2 separate regions of the Homo sapiens genome follow, and region 1 is linked to region 2. The links are contacts of gene promoters, found by promoter capture Hi-C in blood cells and fetal thymus (Javierre and others, 2016). All regions are on one chromosome and are shown on one strand. The core of a region is centred on a gene start or on the middle of the fragment in contact, and the rest is flanking DNA. Distances in the headings are between cores, read along the strand shown.

Evidence for each region. The method cuts DNA at HindIII sites, captures the fragments that hold promoters and counts their contacts. A CHiCAGO score of 5 or more calls a contact.
Region 1: a contact is called between a fragment that was not itself captured here and the fragment with the promoter of MALRD1-AS1 in region 2, in 1 of 17 cell types (megakaryocytes). The highest score is 5.1, in megakaryocytes.

Annotation. Positions count from the first base shown.
Region 1 is chr10:19,807,358-19,811,975 of GRCh38, forward strand. No RefSeq gene overlaps it. Among named protein-coding and RNA genes, the nearest start is that of PLXDC2, 6.8 kb to the right of the region's middle. The HindIII fragment of the contact is 799 bases long and covers 856-1,654 here.
Region 2 is chr10:19,726,098-19,730,586 of GRCh38, forward strand. MALRD1-AS1 (MALRD1 antisense RNA 1) reads right to left here and starts at 2,453. Exons shown (of 5, transcript NR_120646.1): 1 at 2,308-2,453. All of the region lies in intron 38 of MALRD1 (MAM and LDL receptor class A domain containing 1), which reads left to right. The HindIII fragment of the contact is 5,040 bases long and covers 1-3,025 here.

The DNA of each region.
Region 1 (4,618 bases), core at 5-2,504, 80 kb after region 2:
AACAAAACTTGTTACCAGAGATCAAAAGAACTTTTTATAATTATGAGTCAATCTTCTGAGAAGATATAACAATTATAAACATATATGCAGTTAACAATGGAGCATAAAAGACATAAAGACAAACTGAAAGAATTGAAAAGATAAAAAGACAGTTAAAAATAATAGTTGAAGACATTAAATAGTGGTTAGAACAAGTAAACACAAAATTAAACATACTGCTGAAGACTTGTGCAAACCTATAAACCGTCTAGACCAGAGACATCTGCAGAACATTCTCTATGTCTGTGGACTTCTGTAGAACATCTGTGAAACAACAGAATATATTCTTCTCAAGTGCTCACTGAATGTTCTCCAAAAGAGACTATGTATTAGTCAATACAGCAAGTCTCAATAAATGTAAAAGGTTTGACATCTTACAAAATATGTTCTCAGACCAAAATGAAATAAAGTTAGAAATCAATAATATAGAAAATTTGGGATATTCTCTGATGCATAGATATTAAACAACACATTCCTAAATGACTGATGGATAAAAGAAGAAATCACAAGGGAAATTAGAAAATATTTTGAGATTAGTGAAATAAAAACACAATATATCAAAACTTGGGATGCAGCAAAAACAGTATTCAGAGAGAAAATTATAGCTACAAATGCCTACATTTAAAAAGAATAGATCTAAAATTAATGACCTGACTTTCCACCTTAAGAAACTAGAAAAAAACGTAAGCTAACCTAAAGCAAATAGGCGGTAAACAAGAAAGATTATTGTGGAAATAAAAGAAATAGAGAATGAGAATAGAAAAACAATCAAGAATGTCAACAAAACTCTTCGTTTTTGATCAACAACATTGACAAAGCTTTACTTCAATTTACCAAGAAAAAAGACAGAACACCCAAGTTATCAGAAACGAAAAAGTGGACATTACTACCAACCATACAGAAATAAAAATTGTTATATGAGAATATTATACACAATTGTATACTAATAAATTAGATAACAAATGGAAAATTCCTGACAAAGAAAATATCGAAACAGGCTCAAACAGTAATAGAAAATCTGACAAGACTGATAAAAAAGAGAAACAGTAGATTAATAAAGAAAAAATTTCCACACACACAAAAAATCATACCCAGATGGCTTCACTGGTGAATTCTACTAAAAGATTAAAGATAAATTAACACATATTTTCCAAATGTTTCCAAAAGGTAAAGAAGAAGGAACACTTCCTAACTCATTCTAATGAGGGTAGTATTACCCTGATACCAAAACCTGGCAAAGACCTCACAAGAAAAGACAAATAAAAACTAATGCCCCTTACATATATGGATGCAGAATTTTTTTAAAATGCTAGAAAGCTGAATTTAGTATCTGAGAAAAAGGACCATATCCCATGACCAAGTAGAATTTCTCTTGAGTATATAAGATTGGTTCAACACATCAAAATCTATCCAAGTAATATGCCATACCAATAGAATAAAAGAAACAAATGCACAATCTTATTAGTTGATGCAGAAAAAAAAATTGGCAAAATCCAACACCCACTCATGATAAATATACTCATAAACTAGGAATGGGAGGAATCTTGCTCAACCTGATAAAGGGCATCAGTGAAAACTCCACAGCTAATGTCATGTTTAATGGTGAAAGAGTTAAAGCTTTCCCTATAGCATCAAGAACAAGACAACTACTGTCAACACTTCCATTTAACATTGTACCAGAGGTTCTAACCAGGGTAATTTGGTAAGAAAATATAACAAAAGGCATCTATCTATATGGGAAAGGAAGACAAAAGAAAAAGATATTTGAAGATCTTATACCTAAAAAAAACCCCTAAGAAATTCTCACACCTGTAAAAAACTATTAGATATAATAAATGCATTGGGAATGTGGGGATATCTCACATTCATGGATTGGAAGACTTCATATTGTCAAGATGGCAACAGTCCCAAAATTAATCTAGAGGTTCAATTAAATCCCAATCAATTGGCAAGTTTGCAAGATTAATAAACAAAAAATAAGTTGTACTCCTATCTATTAACTGGTATATGCTGGATTTTGTGCCCCTCCAAACTCATATGTTAAAGGCCTAACTCTCAGAACCCGAAAATGTGCCTGTAATTGGGAATTGAGCATTAAAAGAGGTGTTCAAGTTAAAATGAGGCCATTATGGTGGTTCCTAATCCAATCTCACTGCTGACCTTATGGTAAAAGAAAATTTGAATAAAAAGGAAGATGTGTACACAGAGAAATGATCATGTGAGAACATGAGCATTTACAAGCCAAGAAGTAAGGCCTCTGAAGAAACCAAAACTGCTGGCACCCTGATCTGGGACTCTTAGCCTCCAGAAATGTGAGTGTTTACACCACTCAGTCAGTGGTGTTTTGTCGTGGCAGCCCTAGCAAACTAATATGAGAACCATTCGAAATCTACAAATGTAATTAAGAAAACGATTTCATTTATAACAGCATCAAAAAGAATAAAATACTTAGAAATAAATATAACAAAACAAGTGCAATGCTAGTACATTGAAGCTACAAAACTACATAACAATATTGAAATAAATTAAAGAAGAGGAAAATTAATAGAAAGACATCTCACATTCATGGATTGGAAGACTTCATATTGTCAAGATGGCAACAGTCCCAAAATTAATCTAGAGGTTCAATTAAATCCCAATCAAAATTCCAACAGCCTCTTTTGGAGAAATGGACAAGCGAATTCTAAACTTTATATGAAAATGCAAAGGATTCAGACTAGCTAAATCAATCTTGATAAACAGAACATAGCAAGAGGACTCACACTTCCTTATTTCAACTCTTACCAAAAAGCTACAGTAACCAAAACAGTGTAGTATAAGGAGAGACATATATATTAATGGGATAGAATTGGGAGTCCAGAAATAAACCTATATGTCTATGGCCAACTGATTTTCAACAATGATGTCAAGATCATTCAATGCAGTAACAATCTTTTCAACAAGTGGCTGAGACAATTGTATGTCCATATGCAAAAGAATAATTTTTGTCCCCTTCCTCACATTTTATACAAAAATTTACATAAATGGACCAAAGAACTAAATATGAAAATGAAACTATAAAATTCTTAGGAGAAAATATAGGCATAAATCAACCTTGGATTAGGCATGAGTTTCTTATACATGACACCTATAGTAGAAGTAACCAAAGAAAAATATATACATCTTGCTTTATCAAAATAAAAAACAACGTGCATCAAAGAACACTATCAAGAAAGCGAAAAGACAACCCATATTATGTCATTTCTTTCAGAAAATGTTTGCAAATCCTACATACTTTAAGAGCCCAACATCCAGACTATGTTGAGAATTCATACAACTCAACAATAAAAACACAGTCGAATTAAAAATGAGAAAGGGTTTAGAGAGAATCTTTTCCAGAGAAGATACATGAATGCTCAATAAGCCCAAGAAAAGATGCTTACCATCAATAGTCGTCAGGGAAATGCAAATAAAAACCAGAATGTCATACCACTTCACACCAACTGGGATCACTGTAGTTTTTTTTTCAATGAAAAACAAGTATTTGCAAAGATGAGGAGAAATTTGAACCCTCATGCATTGTTAGGAAAGTAAAAAGGTGCAACCACTGTGGAAAACAGTTTGTCATTTTCTCACAAAGTTAATTATAGTGTCACCATACTGCTCATATGTTCACACAAATTGTGCATAGATTTTTAAAGTCACGTTATTCATAATAGGCAAAAAGTGGGAACAACCCAAATGTCCAATAACTGATGGACTTAATCTTTTATCCATAATATAATTCAATGGAATATTGGAAATAAAAAGGAACGAAGTACAGATACAGTCAACAGCATGGGTGAATTTGAAAACATTATGCTAAGCAAAAGAAATCAGCCACAAAAGGCCGTATACTGTATGATTCCATTTATGTGAGCTCTCCAGGAGGAACAAATTCCCAGAGACAGAAAGTAGATTAGTGTTTGCCAGGGGCTGAGGAGAAAGGGGAATGGGCAGTGATTGTTAATGGGTATGGGGTTTCTTTTTGGAGTGATGACATGTTCTGGAATTAGATGGTAGTCTTGATTTTACCATCTTGTGGGCATATTAAAAACCACTGAATTATGTACACTTTAAAAAGGTGAATCTTAAGCTACATAAATTATATCTCAATAAAAATTTTGTAGAGATGGAAATAAAAAGACTGGAAATTTAGGGCAAATGAAAACAGGATGAATGCAAGATGAGGAAAGGAAATTCAGTACAAGTCATTTTGGTGGACACTGGCAGTGGTGGTGCCTATGTGAATCAGAGCAGTCCTGCCTCCAACACAAGAAGCCTGTGCCAGGAGTAACAGCCTCCACTAGGGGCTCTGCAGAAACACAATTTCTCCTGGGGCTGATATTTGAGAGTCAAATTTCCTGCAGTTTAGATATTTCCACCAGCAAAATGTGGATAGGCTATAAGGCTGACAACTGTGTCCAAAGCAATAATCGCTTGAGAACTTTTCCATGTGCCCCATCACTCTGCATTGTACAGCATATTCTTTAACACATTTATTTCATTTTTCAATTCACTAAGTGCTTGCTGAGCACTTGCCCATTTTCCTTTATTTGCA
Region 2 (4,489 bases), core at 1,203-3,702:
AAATTGGACTTTATCAAAATCAAAAACTTTTGTGCAACAAAAGACATTATCAAGAAAGTGAAAAGACAATCTACAAAATGGTAGAAAATATTCAAAAGTACGTATCTGATAAAAGTTTAATATCCAGAATATATAAAAATCCATACAACTTAAGAACAAAAAGACAACCCAATTTCAAAATGGGCAAAGGACTAGAATAGTCATTTCTTCAAAGAAGATTACATATAGTTGAACATAAAAAGATGTTCAACATCACTAGTCATTAGGGAAATGAAAATCAGTACCACAATTACATACCAATTCACATCCACTGAGATAGCAATAATAATAATAATTTAAAAACTGAAAATAACAAGTGTTGATGAGGATGAGGAGAAATAGAAACCCTCACACATTGTTGGTGGGAATGTAAGATGGTGCAGCACTATCAAAAACAGTTTGGCAGTTCCTCAAAAGTTAAAAAAGAGTTACCGTGTGTTCTATCAATTCAACTCCTAGTTATATACCTCGAAGAATCAAAATAGAGACTTAAACAGATATTCATGCAGCAATGTTCCCCATAGCAGTATTCACAATAGTGAAAAGATGGAAACTACCCAAATTTCCATCAACAGGTGAATGAATAAACAAAATGTGACATATACATGCAAGGGAATATTATTCAGCAATAAAAATGATTAAACTTCTGATACATACTACAATATGGATGAATCTTGAAAACATTATGCTAAGTGAAATAAGCCAAACACAAAAGGACAAATACTGTATGATTCCACTTAGGTGAGGTACCTCGAGTCTCATAAAGACAGAAGGTAAATCAGAATTTACCTGGGATTGGTTGGAGGGGAATGGGGTGTTAATGCTCACTGGCCATGGAGCTTCAGTTCAGAGTTATAAAAACATTTTGGAAATAGTGGTAATGGTAGCACAACACTGTGAGTGGAATTAATGGCATTGAATTGTATACTTGAAATGGTTAAAATGGCAAATTTTATGTGATATATACCACTGTTTTAAAAATTAAAAATTAATAAAAGTAACATTACTGAAAACCATTGAATTGTGTACTTTAAGTTTGTGAATTGTATGGCATGTGATTTATAGCTCCATAAAGCTGTTAAAAATAAAAATACAAAATATTCACCTCGAAGTCATGTTTACTGGATGTAACATAGATTGGTTTTTGTTTTATTCTTTTTTTCTCCTTTCCCATTTGTAATAGTTTCAGACTATTATAAACACTTCCATGCTTTTATCAACACTAAAACAATGTTGTCAGTTAATAAGTGAATTCCATTAGAAGTATAAATATGCTCGCTAAATTAAAATTGGAAACTGCCATCAGAATTATCTTAGTTCTGCATTGATCTAGGTCTCTTGTCACACATTCAGAATGCCACTTCGCACAGTATCTGCACGTAATGGATATAAGATAAACTTAATAATAATTTATATGAATGCATGATAAGGGAGAAAAACTTATATGATCCATGCAACTTCCTTTCCTCTACTCAAAATTTCTAAGTCAGTTCCTTTATCATCATTATTCCTAGAGGTGGTTATATTCTTTAGAACCTCAATTCTTACAACTCACTTATTCATTGGGGGAAAAAAAATCAACTGCTTAAGAGCTACCGGCATATTGACAAATACAGTAAGTCAAACATTGCATTTTTTTTTTTTTGGCCTGATGAAGACTCATCATTACACCATTGAGTTTCAGAACTGGCAGGAAACTTTATAATGAAACAAACATTTTATTTCCCTCATGTAAGGATCCACCATTTTAAGTAAAATTGCCTGTGTTTGAATGTCAAATTGACATAGTTGATGAAAATGGAAAATCATAATATTGAACTTGAAATACTAAATGTATAGAGTGACACTAGCAATTTCCTTCATGGAAGAATCTGTGGACGGTGTAATAGTTTACCTTATAAATAAATAGGAAAGACATTAAAATTTAAGTCTAATAGTCCAGGGATTTTCAAGAATGGGAGATATATCTTTAATCTAGGAAAAATAAAAGCAATTTGAGACTACTAAAAAACAAAAGTTGAAGTAGGAAGGATTTGCCATTCCTCACCTTCCAATACTCACACTGAAACCCTTTCTTCTTTTATTACAACTCCACATCCTTACTCTTAAATATCATCTTCCTTCTTTGTAGTTACCCAAATCTTGAAGGCCAGACACCTTCAAATGTTTTTTCATTTTAATAGAAAATTATTTCAGACTTAAAACCCTTTCAGAAGACAAGTAGCTTCAATAATTGAATTAACAGAGCTGAGAATTATATAAATTTACCTGGCTTCTGCCTGCTGACCGTGGTCTGGGTCATCTGGAGTCCCAGCAGTTTAAGACCAAAAATAATTGCTTCATATCAAGATCTTTTGTGTTGCTTCTGCCTCACACCCTTGCAACTGACGGCCAAGCTGGTCCCTTCAGCTCCTGGTTGTATGCTCAGGCTTTGACCATCTGTCCTGTCTAGCCCTGTGGTTTGGGTTTCCTCCTGCTTCCTGATTTCATGCCTGATTTCAGCCTCTTAATTTTTCTGAGCTCTTGGTGTCAGTGTCTGTCTTATCTTTACTTAGTTCCTAATTTCTATTATGTTTTGATCATCCCTACTTCCATGTCCAATTTTTCCTGCTTTGGTATTTTGATGCATTTCAAAACTACACTTCACTCCCTACCCAATCTCAACTCCAAGATCATCCCTGGCTCAGTTCATGCACTAACCATGCTATGTACTGAGATTACTACTCCGAGAATTTAACATAGACTAGTCTTGAATAAAGTAAAGGCAAAGAGTCAAACACAACTTACTCAAATTAATCAGAGCAACTAATAAGCATTCAATTAGTGCTTAAGGAATTAACAGATATTTGTTGACTCAATTCAGACTTTTTTCAATAATAACCCACAAAATAGATGCATATGGCCCTATTCATCAATAAGCAAAATGTACCCGCGGTGAGGGTGAAACATTTAATCTATTGTATATTTAAGCCAGTGGAGATCAGGAAGCTTAAAAGACACTGAATCCACAGGGACAATGTATTGCCAGCCAAACATAATTAGCTAGATTAGACTGTTAGGCTCACTGATGCTGCAGTTTCTTTGAAAAGGACCATGTGGTTTGGTAGATGACAATAGGCAGTTATGCCTATGGCAATTTGTTTTCAGAAATCAAATCAGTAAGAGCCCCCTTCTTGCTACATTTTATTTTGGGATTTAGAATTATATTACTGACAAACATTAATTTTCACTGTATCCTGAATAGGCAAAAAATATACATTATACATACATTATACATTGTGTTATACAATTATCATACATTATATATTTGTTACTCGTGTCATTAAGCTCTTAAAACAATCATCCTGGAATTGGTCTTCCATTCTCCATTGTGTGTGTGTGTGTGTGTACACATGCATGTATAGGATCCTTTCTTATGTGTGTGTGTGTGTACACATGTGTGTATAGGATCCTTTCGTGTGTGTGTGTGTGTGTGTGTATTTAGTTCTTGGTTACTTTTTTTTGTTCCTACGATGGACATTTTTTCTTCATCAGTTGTCACCAAGTAGTCCAGGGCTGCGTGTCTTCTAATAAGTCTATTAATTCTTTTTTTTTTTTTTTTTTTTTTTTTTTTTTTTTGAGACGGAGTCTCGCTCTGTGGCCCAGGCTGGAGTGCAGTGGCGCGATCTCGGCTCACTGCAAGCTCCGCCTCCCGGGTTCACGCCATTCTCCTGCCTCAGCCTCCCAAGTAGCTGGGACTACAGGCGCCCGCCACCACGCCCGGCTAATTTTTTTGTATTTTCAGTAGAGACGGGGTTTCACCGTGTTAGCCAGGATGGTCTCGATCTCCTGACCTCGTGATCCGCCCGCCTCGGCCTCCCGAAGTGCTGGGATTACAGGCGTGAGCCACCACGCCCGGCCTATAAGTCTATTAATTCTTAAGTAAAGTATAAAAGGAAAATAATCATATGGAGCCCAGTTAATTATAGTGAATTATGCACATGTAGTCCAATATGTGATATTACCAAGGGCTTGCTGTTTTTGAGTTTCATGAAACACTACCCTAAAGAACTTTTCAAAACAGTTGTATTTAAATTTGCTGATTAAAATGTTAAAGACTATGACTCATGTGCTACAGATCTTTATGACAGATACTGTCATGGAAAACAGTCTTCAGGATGTAGTGGTTTGGCACTGTGCAGTGTAAAGGACTTCAAGATGGCCTTTCTTTATCACTAGTACAGCTTCATATTACATTGTTCTTTCTAATGTTGGACACTTTGCACTGAGTAATATTTTAAGAAATCAACATTAAGACTAACTTTTGCAATTTCTTTTATTTGCCTGAGTTTATTTGGATCTAAACACTCAGAGTTCAAATTACATTTGCTTTCCTGAATGTGGTTGCCTTGGTGTCCTGCAAAAAATAAAAAATAAAAAACAAACTTTACTTATGGTAATACATTCATGA